Regions from separate parts of the Homo sapiens genome. Here all the other regions are linked to region 1. The links are contacts of gene promoters, found by promoter capture Hi-C in blood cells and fetal thymus (Javierre and others, 2016). All regions are on one chromosome and are shown on one strand. Each heading gives the region's core, a stretch centred on a gene start or on the middle of the fragment in contact. The rest is flanking DNA. Distances are from core to core; before and after follow the strand shown. Region 1 holds the start of ADAMTS9 (ADAM metallopeptidase with thrombospondin type 1 motif 9). Region 2 overlaps LOC105377125 (a long non-coding RNA gene). Region 3 overlaps ADAMTS9-AS2 (ADAMTS9 antisense RNA 2). Region 4 overlaps LINC02040 (long intergenic non-protein coding RNA 2040).

Region 1 (4,566 bases), core at 1,159-3,658:
GGGGGGCAGATGCCTTGTAAGATCCACTGGAGGGCACATGCGGGGGTCGACAGAGAGTCGGGGAACCAACGTGGATTCCCTGCTAAATGCTATTTGGCAGCGCAAGAAGGCGGCCTCCCCGCCCTGCCTCAGTCCCTAGGGAAACGTGCGCCGCAGGCTCCCTCTCTCCACTCCCTGGAACCCGTGAGTAGTAGAAACCCCAGAGGAACCGAAATCACGTCCGGACAGCCTCTCCAGGCTGTCTCCCACTATCCCGTTTCTCCCGGCCACCCCGCCAGTAGGGTGCAGAGTTGGACTGCGCTGCACCCCCACTCTCGGTTCCACCCCAATTCAAAGCGTCCGGGGTAGGCTCCGCCTTCTCCCCCGCCCCCAGAGCCCTCGGCCCACCCTTCCGTTCCTGGGACGGGACCTGCTCCCTGTCAATCCAGTTCAGCCTCAGGGTTCCTGGCGCGTGAATAAAGGCCCTGAGAGAAAGCGGGGACTCTAGATTACGCACCGCCCTCCACAACACACACTGAAGGAACTCCCAGTGCCTTGGGCAGGGGATCCTCAGCCCCACATCCCCGATGCAAGGCGCACCAATAAGGAGTCTGGTCCGCCCTGCGCTCAGCGGCTCCGCTCCCGGGTGGCCAAGTTTGCTGCAGGGAACCGCAACTCCAGTAACTTTCTCCGAGTTTGGAAACTGACTTCCAGGCCGCCTCGCAGCGTTGGGCAACGCGCCGCTGAACCGAGTCCAAACTCCAGAAAGCTCTGAAACATCCAGAAGCCCCTGGGGGCGGGTGTGTGCGCTCCACGCCAGTGTACTCGCACGCACAGAGCTAGCTACCCAAACCATACGAGTTTCTAGCTGATATTTAACGCCGGAGAGGAGCGGAGCCTCGCCACAGTGAGGGTCTCTAGGCTTAGAGGACAATTAAGTCTTCTAGAAGCGGGCGAGGAGGCGGAAGGGGAGAGGAGGTGGCGCGCGCCCACTTACCATTCCTGAGCAGAGGCTGATGACGGCCGTGTGCTCGGAGTTGGTATTGACATAGCCTTTGTAGAAACAGTGCTTGAGTTCCGCTTCCTCTTCGGAATAAAACTTGGTCTGATTCACCCCGGGCGTCCCGAGGAGGGTGACAGTGAACAGTGGAGCGATAAATCCGGCATTGGCGGTGAGATTAAATAGAAACTGCTGGCCGAAGGCAGAGAGGCGGTAATGCGCCTGGGAGGAGGTAGAGGAGGAAGAGGAGGAGGCGAAGGCAGGCCAGGGGTCAGTGGCAGAGTTAATGCTCCGTCGCGTTCTTTTGAAGTGGACGTTCGTGGGAAAGGGTTCTCCGAGAGCGTTCACTCGGATGGGAGACACGATTTCGTATTCGCTCAGGGTCTCTAATAATTTCACTGCGGAGAGAAGCAGAGGTATATGAACCAATAATTCATTTTTCCTTAAGCTTTAATTTAAAACGAAGGTGGGGACTTTGTTCTGACCTTATTTTCCAGCCCATTCGAGTCAATCCCTTCACCCTTAATCAGTGGACAAATATTTGCTGAGCACCTACTATGTGCCAGTAACAGGACCTGTGCTAGGTGCTGAGGATACACTATTCCGAGCCAGACAATTAACAAGTCAAAATATATATGATTTCAGATATTGATAAATAACCTGAATAAAATAAAACATGACGCTATCTGGTGCCCCCAATTACTAAGTTACTTTAGTTTGCGGCGTGGGAGTGGGGATGGGGATATATCTGGCAACAGCAAGGTAGGGGGGGGTTGCCTAAATTCGTTTCCATAGTGTCCCTCCCTAGCAATTGGTTGGGGATGACCCAAAGAAGGGAGAGGCTGCAAAGCGGGAGATAATTCTTTCTAGGAAAAGGAGAGAAGCCTCCGCTGCGGGGTGCCCCTGCCCAGGAGCGAGGACCGGGAGGCGGCGTCGGGGCCGGCGGGGTCCCGGGGGCCGGAGCCTGGTTACCTTGCCTCGGGTGCAGCCTGTCCTTGCGCACGGCCGCCGCGGCGTCTGGGCTCCCCATCTCGGCCAGGTCCCGCACCAGGAGCGTTAGCAGTGTGGCCCAGGATACAAACTGCATGGTGCTTCCCACCCCTCCCTCCGCTGCCCCCACCCCCCTCCCTCCTGCCCTCCTTGGCTGCGGCGGCGACGCGAGGCAGCGGCCGTGGAGAGCGCGCGGAGCCCGGCGCCCGCCGCCAACTTTTGACTTTAGGAGTCGCTGAGGTCTCGCTGCGAGGGTCCCGTCTGCGCTCGGCTGAGCAACGCCGCCGCCTGCCGAGAGCTGAGCCGCTCGGGCCGCAGGAGGAGCCGGAGGAGCAGGAGGAGGAGGAGGACTGGGGCTCGGCTGCTTGGCCGCATAATGCCCAGCGAGCGGGCAGGAGAAGGCGAGGAACTTGCGCTCCGAGGCGCGCCGGGCGCCCTGTGCTGGCCGGGATAGCTGAGCGGCTTCTTGAATGGGGGGCTGGGGGGGCGGAGGCGGGGGGGCCGCGGGTCCACAGCCTCTCAAATGCCCCCGGTGCACGCCTCTAAGAGGAGGAGAGGGGAGGAGAAAGCGAGACGAACGGGGACCGCCTCCTTCCAGACCATGTCCCCTCCTCGGCCGGCCCGTGCGGGACTCGCAGCCGGAGGCCCTGCCGGCTGCAAGAGGCGGAGGCCAGAGGCGTCACCAGCGCCGGGGCAGCTGTTCCTGGTCCCCGCCACCTCGCTGAAGTGGGGTTTTCTGAGATTCCCTGCCCCGGGGAGGGAAAGCAGGGAAAGTTCTCTCCCTTTCCTGGCGCGCGTGCAGCCACTTCCCCTCTCGTCTTTTTCCTCTCCTCTCCTCTCTCTCCTCCCTTCCGAGTCTCTTTTTCCTCCTCCCCCTTGTCTCTCTGCTGCTGTGCCTCTCGGACTCTGTCCCTTCTCCCCATTTTCCCCTGTGATGTCTGTCTTCTCCCCGCCCCACCGTGTCCCTGTCTGTTTCTCACATTTCTCCTTTTCCTTTCCTTTCTCTTCCGTCCCCATCTCTTGCCACCAGTCCCCATCTTTTGGTTTCTTACAAGTGAAAGTGGCCCAGCGCCGGAGCGCCTTCCCTTCCTACACTTTTTCATTCGGGAAGAGATTTGGCACCTGAGCTCCGCTCTCGATTTAATCACCCCAAGTCAAGAGTTTTAGAAATGGGGTTCTTAATCCTGCAGGTCGGAGTGTGTTTCTAATACGTGGTCTCTTGAAAATTTCGCAAAATATTTAAGCTGTGCTTTCCACCAACCTCTGTCACCATTCATGGAGGGTCCATAGCATTCTGTAGGTCCCCTGCCCCAAAAAAGGTTAAGAACAAATTTTGGCAGCAAGAAGGGGCGGGGACTCTGGCGCCCCTCACTACCAGGGGGTTTAGAGATGGGAGGGGAAGGGGGGATGGAGTGTAAAGTTGTAGATCCCTGTGGGAGGCACCAGTCCCTGGAGGGATTTCTCAATCACTTCCGCTTGCTTTCAGCCTGAGAGATGCTTGGAAAGACTGGGAAAGACTGAAAGCAGGCGCTTCAAGCTACACCTTCGTGTGTGTGTGTGTGTGTGTGTGTGTGTGTGTGTGTGTGAATTGTTCAATCTTGGGTGGTTCAGTGGCGCCTTTTCTTTAACCAGCCCTCAGGAAGATAGAATTTCAAGATAATTTCAAGAGGAAAGACATGACAATATCGTTAAAAATATATAAATATATGACTAATAAATATATATTTGCCCAAGTATCCTAGAACGGGGGTTGAGGTTCTGTTGCGTGGTAGGTTAGCACTCAGGACTAGAAATACCAAAGATTGCCAACACCAGGAACCAAATCGCAATATGCTAGCAATGTCAACTATTCTTGAGATACTAATACATATATTTCTTCTGGTGAAGGGTAAAAATGACTTGGCAAGACGAATTTGCTAAATAATTGTTAACCCAAATTGATAATGTTACCATCGTCTTATTACTGGAATTTCATAATGGATATGTAAAATGTAAGGATGGAAAAATAACATCTGTATTGTGCACAATTAGAGATTTTTAGAGAATGGCATTTAAACCTTGAACCTCCAAATTAATTCACTAAAATACGTTTCTTCTAATACACAATCTTTCTTTTTATTATAACAACATTCCCCACAATCACAGTGTCTGGGAGTTGCTGAAAATTTAGTAAGGAACAGAAAAATATCAAGAAATCAATCTATTGGCTGATTCCTGTGGAAAATATTCCAGTACTTCCATTGTAAAATTACTCAAAAATATAGCACTTTCCAGTATTTCCCATTAAATCTTTTTTTCTCTTTCAGTTCAAATCCTTCCTGACAAAGAGAAGTTAACTAATGGTATAGAAATTACGATATGTAGGGACAGAAGCCTCCTTTGTGTACTCTCTCTCCTTTGCTTTCTTTCTAGGACTTTGCTTGAAGAATGAACTTTGTCTACAGTTTTAAAAAATTGATCCACAAGAGCTGATAGGCCAGAAAGATACAAAATATCTCTTGGTGAACTCCTGAGGTGACCAAGAACCTAGGTTTATGAATTTCTCATCCTTAGTGAGTCTACCCATCTTTTCTTCAGTGTATTAGCTGGCTTCTGCA
Region 2 (4,259 bases), core at 1,390-3,889, 420 kb after region 1:
CTGCTCAAAAAGTCCTGCCTTCTCTTGTACACCAAGCCCACTCATCTTATTGAAACCATTCAAATACTCAGATGATTCATATTGTTTCTTGACAATTCAACTGTAAGCTCCCAAATAGGAATTCTGTTGTTCAAGTTTTAGAGTAAGAACTATTATAGCAGTAAGACTTTCTCTCTCTGTCTCTCTCTCTCTCTCTCACACACACACATACACCCACGCACACACTTACAATGTACCAGGCACTGCTCTATATGTAAAATGTGAATCAACTTCTATAATTTTCACAGCAACCCTAAGGGGCAGGTACTATCAATACTCACATTTTACGGAAAGGAAACTGAATCAGAATAGTTAAGTGAGTTGTCTAAAATCACACAGCTGTCATTCAAACTGAGCCAGGTGAGCTCTAAATCCCAAAACTTTTTACCACTATTGTGAGATTTCTAACCTGCAGAACTGTAAGATAATAAAAAAAAAAAAAAGAAAAAAAAGAACGATTTTAAGTCACCTGGTTTCTCACTATTTGTAATAGCAGCAACAGAAAACTAACATAACTGTGCTACCCCCACTGCTATTCAAGACACAGGCATAATTCTTTGCATATAAGCTTTAAAAAGTAAAGGTGTTGGCCTCACGCCTGTAATCCTAGCACTTTGGGAGGCTGAGGCAGGCGGATCACTTGAGGTCAGGAGTTTGAGACCAGCCTGCCCAACATGGTGAAACCTCATCTCTACTAAAAATACAAAAATTAACTGGGTATGGTGGCAGGCACCTGTAATCCAAGCTACTGGTGAAGCTGAGGCAGGACAATTGCTTGAACCTGGGAGGCAGAGGTTGCAGTGAGCCAAGATTGTGCCACTGCACTCCAGCCTCGGTGACAGAGCAAGACTCTGTCTCAGAAAAAAAAAAAAGGAAAATTGTTAATGAATATATATTTGTTGAATTTGTTACAACTATCAAAAATGACCTAGCGATGCAGAGAAATACAAAAATTATCACGAGAATTAGCATGAGAGAAAAATTACATATTTATGAATTTCAAAGAGGTGACAAGGGCACCAATCTTAGAGACCAGAGATCTTGATCCTGGAGCAGATTTTGTCTAGAAATGCTTATGTGACATGAGCAAGACTTTTAATTTCTCTGAGACTCAGCTTCTATATTGAAGAATAAGGGAGTTGGACCGGGTCATCTTGAACTTCTTTCTGGTATAAAAAGAATGATATTTTGAGTATAGTTTTCTTTCTTCCCATTTATTTCAATCAAATAATAATGTGCCCCAATATTTCTCTGAGATAGCCACACTATATCATCATGAGCAGTGCTAATAATCAGATTCATGAAACGCACAAGGAAATACTCAAAGCTGACTTTAAAAAGCACCATCTTATATAACCCTGAGGTTTCCTCCCTCCACTTTAAATGATCCTTCTTAGCAGCTTGCCATTCATCACAGAAACCGATCACAGAAACCACAAGGGCATTGATCATATTTCTTGAGTCTATGCATTTGTATAATCTCATTGTCTTTATAGCGGGTGCAGAATAAGAACTTCTGACAACATCCGTTTCCTCTGCTGGGAAATAATAGATGTCTGTATAATACCAGTGATACTGGTCTGATGGCCAGCCAGTGGTTTACAATTTCCAGTAGAATTTGCCTTTATGTGTTATTTTTCTAACAGTACTGTTACTATAAAATATAAGGAAGAGTGTACTGGGGAGAAGGGTAGTGGTAGGGAAAGAATAAGAGACAGGAATAGAGGTCGCAGTTGAGGGAGCTGCAAGGTGCTTGGAGCTATTTGGCCTTTTGTGCACAATTGATAAAACCGTTTAAATTATGGTGGGTTGTGCTGCTCCAGCTAAAATTCAGTGGAGAGGATTTAAAAATATAAAAATTAGATGCAGAGAACTAAACAAAGCAATCAGTATGTGCAGAAGTTGGAGGTACCAGGACCAGCTTTTGTTGCAAATCTTTGGGCAGATGACATAATTTGGGCATAATATACATCTTTCACAGCCAAACAACATAACCCGTGATGAACAGAGCGTCCGGACAAAGATAAACCCTGTGAGTCACACGCAATTCTTTTCTCAGCAAACAGTGGAATTACATCCAGCTTGGTTGGTGGAAAAGACAGCCAAGGCATTTTCCTTTCTTTGAGTATCTTAATATAATGAAGGGATAACATATGAGAGGGAACATAAAGAAGGAGAAAACTTTATTAGAGAAGGAAACATTGTCAAATAACTAGACAGCAAAGAGACATAGGGTAACAGATTTCCTGAGATATATCCCCTGGGTACCAAATAAATTACAGGATTGGAAGAAAAACAAAGACCAAGATGAAATGTAATGTGGGAGTGTAAAAACTGAGAAGAAAGCTTATGAAGAGAAAGAAAAATAGAAATAGGAAAAACTGAGAAGAGAGGAAAGAAAATACAAAAAGAAGAGGAGGTAGAAGCCTGCTTTGTCCTCCTTTCATTGATGCACATCAGTAAGGGTCAGTCTTTGCACATTTGTTTCATCATTACTTCCACTTTCTCTTCTTTCTCACTTTTTCCCACTTCAGAATTGGGAAAGAAAGGAACTGCCAGAGATGCTTCCAGGCTCCCCTTTACTGCCATGCACAACTTGGATTTTCTTTGTCTTGCCAAGACAGCATAAAATGGGGTTCCCTGAAAGGAAATCAGGGTACTGTTAGGAAAGGACAATGAGGTTGAACAACCAAAACACAACAATATCCACACAGAATTGATTCTGTGAGCTAGTCTTATCTTACATTGAGCTCCAACCATTCACAGCTTAATGAAGGGGAACTGAAAAGCAAAGATGCTAAAAAATAACAACAACAAAAAGAAAAAATATATATATGCAATGTTCCAAAAAAGATGAAGCTTTCCCTAACCTCATAGAACAGAAATAGAAATAAAAGCTCAATGTAGTTTTCCTATCCTGTGAGTCTGCTTCAAGAATAAAATCGCTAGGTTAATTGAACTCTGACCTCTTAACATTTTCATTAAAAATGTAAAAATATTGTTTGATCATCTCTTGAAAACTAAAATGAGCTATACTTTCAGTCATTTTTGTAGTTGTCATATTTATGTTTTCATCTTTTATTATGCCCCCTGACTTTAAGATTTAGGTATACTAAATTTTATCCTCTATAAACAAATTGATGCTTTTCTATGACATTTCCTAAAAGACAAGTGGCTATTTTTCTTTTTCCTTTTGGCACATTCTTTGCTGCTTCTTAATTTTTTTTAATCTCCAGAAAATGTCTTTCAACTTTTTTTCTTCATGAGAATGCTCTTCAAGTCTCTCAGAACCTGTCATGTTATACTACTTTACATACAAAATTATACATAATTATTGTAAATGCATTTACAAATGACTAAATGGCAAATGTTTACAGATGCATACTTACAGACATGTATATATTCAATATTTACCTTATAAATAAATTTAGTCAGACTCTTTGTTAAGTGGATGGTTATTAACATGTCAAAATATGGTTCTGAGAGTATGACTTTATAACATCAGGATAGTTGATATGTACTGACAAGGACTGATGTCTAGAAATGTTAAGAGAAAAAAATAAGCTGCAGATCAATATATATACTATAATCCTTTGAATTTTTTAAAAATATCCTAAGTACAGATTCATGTATTAGGTTATAATTGGTTTTGCTGTGGTAACTAGCTTATTCTGAAATCTCAGTGATTAAACACAAGGAAGATATAGTTTGTTCATGGTACATATATAACACTCATATGCACAATGAGAGAAGAATGCTAATCCATATAGTCATTCAGGGACCCAGGCTTCCATCACATTGCATATGTAACATTTAGAAGATGGAGCCTCCTCAGTCTTCACAAGAAAGTAAGAAGGCTCATGGAAAACTCATTCTTACCATTATGCATCAGCCCAGCAATGACAAATATTACTTCTTCTTTGAGACAGGGTCTCGCTCTGTTGCCTAGGCTGGAGTGCAGTGGTGTAATCATTGCTCGCTGTAACCTTGAACTCCTGGGCTCAAGAAATTCTCCCACCTCAGCCTCCCAGGTAGCTAGGACTACAGATGCATGCCACCACACTCAACTAATTTAAAAAATTTTTTGGTAGAGACAGGGTCTTGCTATGTTACCCAGGCTGATTTTGACCTCCTGGCCTCAAGCAATCCTCCTGCCTCAGCTTCCCAAAGTGATGGGATTACTGGCATGAGCCACTGTGCCTGGCCTCACTTCTGTTTAT
Region 3 (4,101 bases), core at 463-2,962, 310 kb after region 1:
TAATGTTAACTATGATTCTATTTGGGTGGTGACTTTATGAGCAATTTTTGTTTTGTTTTGCTCGTTTGTATAGTTTTAATTCTGAGCAATGAATATGGATTACTTTTGAAGGAAATAAAAGGAGACAATATATTCTACTGGGAAACAATAAGGAAAAAAGAGCCTAGAGATCTCAAAATGGAAATAAGAAATGTGGTATTCGTTAATATGTCTATCTGGAAAACACCTGGAATCCTACCAGCTCCGATGAGCCCATTTGAATATAACTTTTCCCTAACAGTGGCCACCCACTTGGTTCCCCTTTCCCAGCAGGCGTAGCTCCGATAGTGAAATCAAATTCTGGCTGTCTGCTTTGGAAGTAAGTAGGGCAGTGGGGTGGGGGAAGGTGAAGGGATCCTCTGAGAACAGCCTGCTCCAAACTGAAAGGAAGTGAAAATCCTCCACATGTTGCAGGGATTGCTGGTAGATCATCCCCCAGTTCTCCTGCATCTGTTCTGCTGCCTCTTATAGAAACCAAGACAGGAAAAATGAAATGTACCTAAAACAGGAAATGAGGGTAGTCATTTGAATGATACAGTACCAGAACCCTGTAAAGTGTTTTGGGTGGGGTGGGCAGTGAAACAAAAGGCACCAATCATAGTGCTCACATCTGATCTCACACTCGGAAAAAGTAGGTACGTGAAGACAACAAACGATGGTGAGTGGAGAGGACTCCAGAGTCAGCACACACACATTCCCAATAGCCAGGTGGGTTCAACCGCTGCATACCTGTTAGCTCCTCAGGGTGGAATTTCCCAACTGCTGAGCCATGGTATGCTGGTTTTCCCTATGCTATTGATCCCCTCAGCCCTAGAGGTAATGGGCCAGCACTTCTGACAGCACTCTGGGCCAGCACTTCTGACAGCAGGCACTTCATAAATTAGTAAAATAGAGGAATTGACAGAATATTTTTATAGCAGGTAAAGAAAGTAAGAAAACATTAAGTGGGAAAAAGAAGTTAATAGCCATTAGCATGCAACTACTATGATTTTTATTATCCTTTTCCATGTAAAAAGACATATAAAGAACTAGGAAGCATTAGAACTACCATAGGTCATCCTCTCATTAAATAAAGTCCAAAAAAAAAAAAAAAAAAACAACAAAAAAAAAAAACAAGGGCCAGGGGGTGGGAGTTGGAGAGGGGCTTATAGCTCAAGGTACTATTTTTCTGTGGAAGGCCCGTTACTGTTAATACGTGTGCTATAAAATAAAGAGGAGTCAGATGAATTTGGGGAAAACCAAGTTTTTTAAAAGGTATATGTCATTTCAGGAATTCCTAGGGCCTGTAACTGATAAAAATATATTGCGACTTTCCACAAGCAGAAATAGCATAGAATTATTGCGCCAAAGCTTTTCGACCATAGAATATCACCTGAGGAATACGCTTTGCAAATTGCTACAGTAATCTCTCTCTCACTGCTGCACCCACGCTTCACTGAATGTGTGGTGTAGAATGGGTTCTGATCCTCTCCCACCTGATGATATGGTTGTCCCCACACTGGCTTTTTTCTTTTACTTATGGCAAGCGATCGGCCTGATAAAGCTGAAACTACTAATGGGCTATTCAGGGGCTTTCATCCACCTGAGTCCAAAGCCTTTGCAAAATGACTTCCCGGAACTCAGAGGCAGTCTGCAGCTGGAGCAGTTAGCACTTCGCCAGAAAATAGTTTGTCTTCGTTTTCAGTGTATTTTTCTTTTCTCAGAAGAAAGAAAACAAATAGTCTCAAGTAAATGAATAGAGGAACATGCAGAATTCTCTTTAAAATGGCAGCTTCATGACTTTGCCAAATAAATGAAGATATATTTTAGACATGTATACTCGCTTTACATCTAACTGTGATTTCTTGTTACTTTGCTGATTTTCTTTGAAAATGGAATATAAATATTCAGTAACAGGGATTGTTCTGTTGATGAAGTCTAGTTAAGTTGTAATAACAACTAAATTGATTAAGAACATAGGGCTAAGAATCATGTAGCCTCTTAATCTCACTTTTTCTAAGCTTCCAGGTAGCCCTTTATTTTGCAGTAATGGAAACTCCAGCCATCTGAGCAGAATTCATATGAAGTCTACATGCCAAAGAAATAGAATTTTGCATTTATTTTCTGTTTTCTACTTCCACTTGGAAAGTATCTTTTTCCCCCTAGAAACACATTTAAAAGGGTATAAAAGGGGCTTTCTGTTTGGGGCCAGAACCAGAAAAGGAAAGACAATGGAGAAAAAAAATATTAGCTCAGCTTTTCCGGACTTGAAATAATGTGTGATTTTTGCAGTTTCTCCAACTTTTGAGACTAGGTCTGGTAGAATGCTTAATTCTTTCAGCTGGCGAATCACCTTTCCTCTATGGGGATATTAATGCCCAGTTAAAATTTCTCCATACGAATAAGGAAAAAAACATTTGAATACAGCAGAGCTGTGACTAGATTGATAAATAAAATCATTCTGTCCCTACCCCATTAATTCTCCCTTTCACCGTTTGGAGGTCCTGTGGGCTGAAGCAGTACATCATTTAAATAGTACCTTCAGGTGTTTCACTGAGACCTAATTAAAATTGATGTTGTCATCTGGTGTTTCCTTGTGCAATTTGTCTAGCTCCATGCAAATTGCAAAACAGAGCTCTTGATTAGGACTTTGTCCTTCTTCAAGAAACTGCCCAAGATTTCCTTTAGGTGCTCCAGAAAACGATTTGGCCAGTTGGGAAAAAAAACTTAAGAGTCACTGCGTTCACTGATTTCCTTGGCAAGATATCCAAGTGGTCCTTTTGAATGGATCAGCTGTGACAAGTAAGGCAGTATCCCCCAAGACTTTCCATTCCATAATTGAATTAAAAAAAAAAATTCTTACGATTATTTGTTCTCACAAAATATACGTATCAGTCTCATACTATGTACCTTGGAAATAAGGCTATGTATAGGCAACAAGACCCCATCCTTTGGTGGAGCTCAGACTAGCAGGAAGACAGACATCAACTAGTAATTAACAATAACACATAATGAAGGCATCAGGAAGAAGGAACTGGCGCTGTGTATTTAACGTAGGGGTCAGGAAGGCCACTTCCCTGAGGAAAGGAAATCAAGACACCTCCAGAAGGATACCGACTGGAGATGAGGCTGGAGAGGGTACCACCCTCTCCAGATATGTGCTGTATATCATCAGAATAACAGAGCTAGACATTTGCTTTCTATCCTTCATGCTTTTGTTCAAGTTTTCCCTTTATATTTACAAACTAAAGACCAATTTCTCCTCATAGAAGACTATTAATAAGTTTGTAGCTATGGTCCTTTCTTTTGTGTTTCTTTAGAAAACAATGATTTAAAAATAAAAGCTACCATTTATTAAATGTTCACATTGTGTCAAGCCCATTGAATTCTCACAAATGTTTTCATTTCATCAACTTTTGAAAGAAACTGGAGTTCAGAAGTTTTACTCAACTAGGCAGTGGCCTAGCTAGGAATCAAAGCCAGATCTGAGACATTGAAGTGTCCAATTTTTACCAGTTTACTGGGGTTTTCTTCAATGTTCACATCTACAAACCACTTCATCAAAACGATGAGGGGAGTGTTTGTTAAAAAGACAGAGTTCCAGCCCCGCTCCGTGCAACACCCCACCCCCCACCCCCTGCAGCTGTTTTGAGTCTGAATCTCTGAGGATGTGGACGGAGAATTTGCAGTTCAACAAGTTCCCCAGGGGCTTCCCATGCATTTGAGAATCAGCACACTGCACACAGCTATGCACTTGTAAGACCGGGGTGTGGAGAGACAGACCACTGCTAAGGCAGTTTACTGTACTCTTGTCCACGATCTTGGATTGTTCTCTTGGCCATTTGATGAAATACTACAATGCAGAATGGTTATGATTTTCAAACTGCAAATAGTTTAGCCCCACATTTTGGCAAGATATCTAGGCAGAGCTCACAGAAGAGCTGCTTATTCAGGCTTCAGCCAAGCTGTGAAAAGTGAGGCCTTTTGAGAGGAAGTGAGATAAGACAAAAACTTAAAAAAACAAACATTCTGAGGCCGGTGTTTAAAAGGCCACTGGCAAAATCTATAGCCTAACTAGAAGTG
Region 4 (4,314 bases), core at 304-2,803, 490 kb after region 1:
CCAAAGCTCAAATGAATGGAATGAGAAATGCTACATTGGCCATCTGGATTCAGAGCATTGGTGTTATCATTAACTTCTCCACTTTCCACACTGACAATTCCACACACAGCCACAGTGCCCTCAACCTGTTCCTCCTCTCTCCACCAAGGCTCTCGCATCCCTTCTTCCTTATTGTTTCCTTATGTTGGAACAATTGTACTTGTCTAACAGGTTTCTTCTCCAATTCATTTCGTACATACAAAGCCAGATTATACCTCCTAATACACCACTTTTCTCATTTTACATGAAATTTTTGCCTAGAAACCTACAAAATGTTCATTCATGTTTAGAAAATCACCTTTGATTATGACATTCACTCTGACAGTGCACCTAGCATGCCAGTTTTTATCTCTTTTGTGTTCAGGGCCTTACGAAAACTTGACTCATAAGGTTCAGAATTTCTAAGTCTTAGAGCAAAGTAAAACACCATAGCCAATTTGATAAAATAAATCCATCAGGGCTGTTGTTGCAGGTCAGGTCAAGAAGTAGACTGTGAGATGGAGATTATTAGCATGAGAAAAGATTATTAGGGAGTTCTTCAAGATTGACAGTGGTGGGGAAAGGGAAGGCCAGAGGAAGAAGTTGGGAGACGATGCAATCACAGCAAAGGCCTCAGCCTTAGAACGTCATTCTTGTAGGTAAGAGCCTAAAACAGGAAACAATTCAAATCTCCATCAACAAAATAAACTGTAGTATACTGAGACAAGGAATACTATGCAGTAATAAAAAAAAAAGGGCTACCATTAAGCTCAACAACAAGGGTGACTTTCACAGACACAATATTAAGCAAAAGCATCAGACACAAAAGAATGTGTGATTCCATGTACCTGAAGTTCAAGAGCTAACAAAACTAATCTATGGTGATAGAAGTTATAACAGTGGTTTCCTCTTAGGGAAAAGGGGTTACTGACTGGGAAGGGTCATGAGGGAACCTTCTAGGGATAGGGTCTGAATATATTCTATATCTTGATCTTGGTTGTGGTTATATAGGTGTATATACATATGTAAGAATTTCTCAAATTCTACACTAATATTTGTATACTATAATATATACACATTATAGCTTTTTATCAAGGGAAACATAAGTGTTGGCCCAAACAAAACAACAATTACCTCAAACAGAAATGTATTCATCTTCCTTGGAAGATCAGCTAAAACCACAGCCAGTTTGGGGGATTCGGGGTTTTTTTTGTTTGTTTGTTTTTGTTTTGTTTTGTTTTGTTTTGTTTTTTGTTTTTTTGAGAGACAGGGTCTTGCTCTGTCACCCAGACTGGAGTACAGTGGTACAATCATGTCTCACTGTAGCCTGAACCTCCCAGGCTTAAGCAATCCTCCCTCTTCAGCCTCCTGACTAGCTGGGACCACAGGTTCACATCACCACATCCAGCTAACTTTTAAATATTTTGTAGACACAGAGTCTTCCTATGTTGCCCAAGCTGGTCTCAAGCTCCTGGCCTCAAGCGATCCTCCCACCTAGCCCTCGCAAAGTGCTGGGATTGCAGGTATGAGCCACCATGCCAGGCCAAAATTTTTAAATGTGCTGTGTTTCTTCCCAAATTTTGAAAATAAGTGTTCATAACTACATAGCTGTATGTGTACCTCTACCCATAAAATACAGAACGCATGCCAATAGGAAGAGAAGACACCAGCATGTTGACGCTAGTAATCTCTGGCCACTTTAATTGTAGGCAATTTTAATTTTTTTCTATTTGATTTTCTAAAATTAACATTATTATTATTTGTGTAAGAAAAAGAGTGATTTTTTTAAAAATGCATTATCATTCATTGAGGAATAAACTAAAAGAAAAATGCAGTGCTGAAAGTGACATTGTAAACACCGTAATCCCTGAGAGTGTGTGTTAAACATCAGAGTGAAAAAGGGTAACTTTCTCAGGACCAACATGAGAGTGGACAAGGGGTATAGAAGACCCATGGGGGAAAGGTACCATGCTAAAAACAAGCTGCAAATGACCCTGGCTGCAGTGACAATACATTTAAATGGGAATGTCCAGTTGGAAGGAACACAGCATAACTGCTGACAATCAGTTAGGAATTTCTGGCAAGACGCAGGCAAAGACAGAGGGGCTGTCCCAGTAACATGGCTGTGATTTCTTACAAGGCCAAAAAAGAGCCCAGTTCTCTGACAAAGACTAGCTCTTCCTGTAGTGGTAGCCGCCGATGCTGCCTGAAGGACAGGCTAGAAAGACACAAAGCAAGAAAGCCTCTCAGTTCCTTACAGTTACCAGAGTAACCGGGACATCAGCCATGTTGCCTGGGAATACCCAGAGTAAGCCACAGTGGCAGGTAAATAAAAAAGGGTGTGAATTTGTCAGATTCCAAAGTCTTCCAGCCACTCTGTTTCAGTGACTACTGAAATCATTTCACAATGATCAGACTACTCCCAGAGTCCCTCGTGGAGAAACATCACATTCTCTGCCAGTCCAACTCAGGAACATGAATCCCCAGGGGCAGCTGAAGGAACACAGACATTTCAACGAAGAGTTTTTATAATAAGAGGGAAAAGATTCTTTCTCTCCAAAGGAGTCTGAAAGCTCACAAAAAGAAAAAAATTTAATTTCTTTATCACGTAGTATAAGTAAAATGATAATTGAAACAATAATTTAAGGATTTATTTTTGAGGAAGGAACAGAGACATGCTAGTGGCTGTGAAAGATGCCATTTGCCATTGTGGAAGCAAAAATAGCTTTGTGATCAGAAACACTAGTACTGGCTGCATGACCGTGGACAATTTACCTCTGTATACATCAGCTTCCTCATGCATAAGGTGGGGAGAATAATACCCATCTCACAGACTATTGTGAGGAGTAAATGCAGATAACATATATTATGTGCACTTGGTGCAATGCCTGGCAAGTACCAGGCACTCAATAATATATATCACGTGATCCATGCTGTTGTCACAGTTATGGACAATTCTCACTACAGCCTCTTTCTAAATTTCATTCCAGTCTCACCCCAGCTACAAAGTCTTCTTTTCATGCCTCGTATTGCATGCTCTTGTTTCAAAGATAGTGTCTAGCTCTATAAAAAGTGTACATAACAAGATCTAACCCAAGCCAACAGGCACAATAAGGCCACCGTTAAGTGAAGGTGGTAGAGTACACTGCAAACCCAGACAGAATGAAGCCCAGGTAAGTGAGAATTGTGTAAAGTCAGCTTGTCTGATTTTTCCCACTGTGGAGACATCAGAATCTTGACTCATAAAGTCTGGTATGGTTCACTTGTCCAAGGACCTACATATGAGAATACCCTGATATGTTATTTAATCATAAAACCTGAGAGGCTCGTGGAAAACAATGGAATCTTAATTCTATAAGGAAATCTACATTGTATAAAATTTGTAATAAATGACGCGTAGTCTCTAGCCATTCCTCACTGAGGAATTGGTGATCATCTCTTAACAATGACTTTGAGCAAAACAGTTTCACACTGTCTGGTCACAGAGAGACTTTACTTTCTGCTTAAGCATTTGCTATTAATAGAAGTATAATGCCACCATTGACGGGGTGGACTGTGATGTCAGACTGCCTGCAGTGCTAAACCCAGTGCCAATATTTGATAGGTGAGCAACTTAGGTACATTATTAACAATTTTTTTTTTTTTTTTGAGATGGAGCCTCACTCTGTCACCAGGCTGGAGTGCAGTGGTGCAACCTTGGCTCACTGCAACCTCCAACTCCCTGGTTCAAGCAATTCTCCTGCCTCAGCCTCCTGAGTAGCTGGGATTACAGGAAAGCACCACCATGCCCAGCTAATTTTTGTATTTTCAGTAGAGATGGGGTTTCACCATGTTGCCCAGGATGATCTCTATCTCCTGAGTTCGTGATCCGCCCGCCTCGACCTCCCAAAGTGCTGGGATTACAGGCGTGAGCCACCGCGCCAGGCCCATTGTTAGTATCTATTTTTGCTTCAATCTTATCAAAAGTAAATGGGATTGATAATAGTACCTGTGTCAGAATATGGTTGTAATCATTTATCATAAATAAATTTATTGATGATAAGGTAAACCACTTAGTGCCTGGCACACAGCAGGCAAATGTTTAGCTAGTTTTACTAATTTTTAATCATTATAAATTATTAATTTTTTACTTATATTCACTTTAGAAATTTCAGAAAACAGTGGAGGGGAGAAAGTTTCAAAACTTCTGCTATGGAATATCTCGAAATGGCCACTTTAAACATTTTGAAAAAGTTCTCTTCTAAAATATACAATTGTACAATTAATACCAAAGTGTATATGATATTTTATAACCTA

What was found. The method cuts DNA at HindIII sites, captures the fragments that hold promoters and counts their contacts. A CHiCAGO score of 5 or more calls a contact.
Region 2: a contact is called between a fragment that was not itself captured here and the fragment with the promoter of ADAMTS9 in region 1, in 1 of 17 cell types (endothelial precursors). The highest score is 6.0, in endothelial precursors.
Region 3: a contact is called between a fragment that was not itself captured here and the fragment with the promoter of ADAMTS9 in region 1, in 1 of 17 cell types (endothelial precursors). The highest score is 5.4, in endothelial precursors.
Region 4: a contact is called between a fragment that was not itself captured here and the fragment with the promoter of ADAMTS9 in region 1, in 1 of 17 cell types (endothelial precursors). The highest score is 7.0, in endothelial precursors.

The regions. Positions count from the first base shown.
Region 1 is chr3:64,685,592-64,690,157 of GRCh38, forward strand. It overlaps ADAMTS9 (ADAM metallopeptidase with thrombospondin type 1 motif 9), which reads right to left and starts at 2,409. Exons shown (of 40, transcript NM_182920.2): 1 at 1,952-2,409; 2 at 977-1,377. The coding sequence starts at 2,066. All of the region lies in intron 1 of ADAMTS9-AS2 (ADAMTS9 antisense RNA 2), which reads left to right. The HindIII fragment of the contact is 3,589 bases long and covers 1,426-4,566 here.
Region 2 is chr3:65,105,347-65,109,605 of GRCh38, forward strand. It overlaps LOC105377125 (a long non-coding RNA gene), which reads right to left. Exons shown (of 3, transcript XR_940925.3): 2 at 3,454-3,576; 3 at 2,206-2,679. LOC107986017 (a long non-coding RNA gene) reads right to left here and starts at 450. Exons shown (of 3, transcript XR_001740438.2): 1 at 321-450. The HindIII fragment of the contact is 513 bases long and covers 2,384-2,896 here.
Region 3 is chr3:64,992,303-64,996,403 of GRCh38, forward strand. All of the region lies in intron 4 of ADAMTS9-AS2 (ADAMTS9 antisense RNA 2), which reads left to right. Among named protein-coding and RNA genes, the nearest start is that of LINC02040, 180 kb to the right of the region's middle. The HindIII fragment of the contact is 650 bases long and covers 1,388-2,037 here.
Region 4 is chr3:65,179,332-65,183,645 of GRCh38, forward strand. The region is part of intron 1 of LINC02040 (long intergenic non-protein coding RNA 2040); the gene reads left to right. Among named protein-coding and RNA genes, the nearest start is that of LINC02040, 6.6 kb to the left of the region's middle. The HindIII fragment of the contact is 6,152 bases long and covers 1-4,314 here.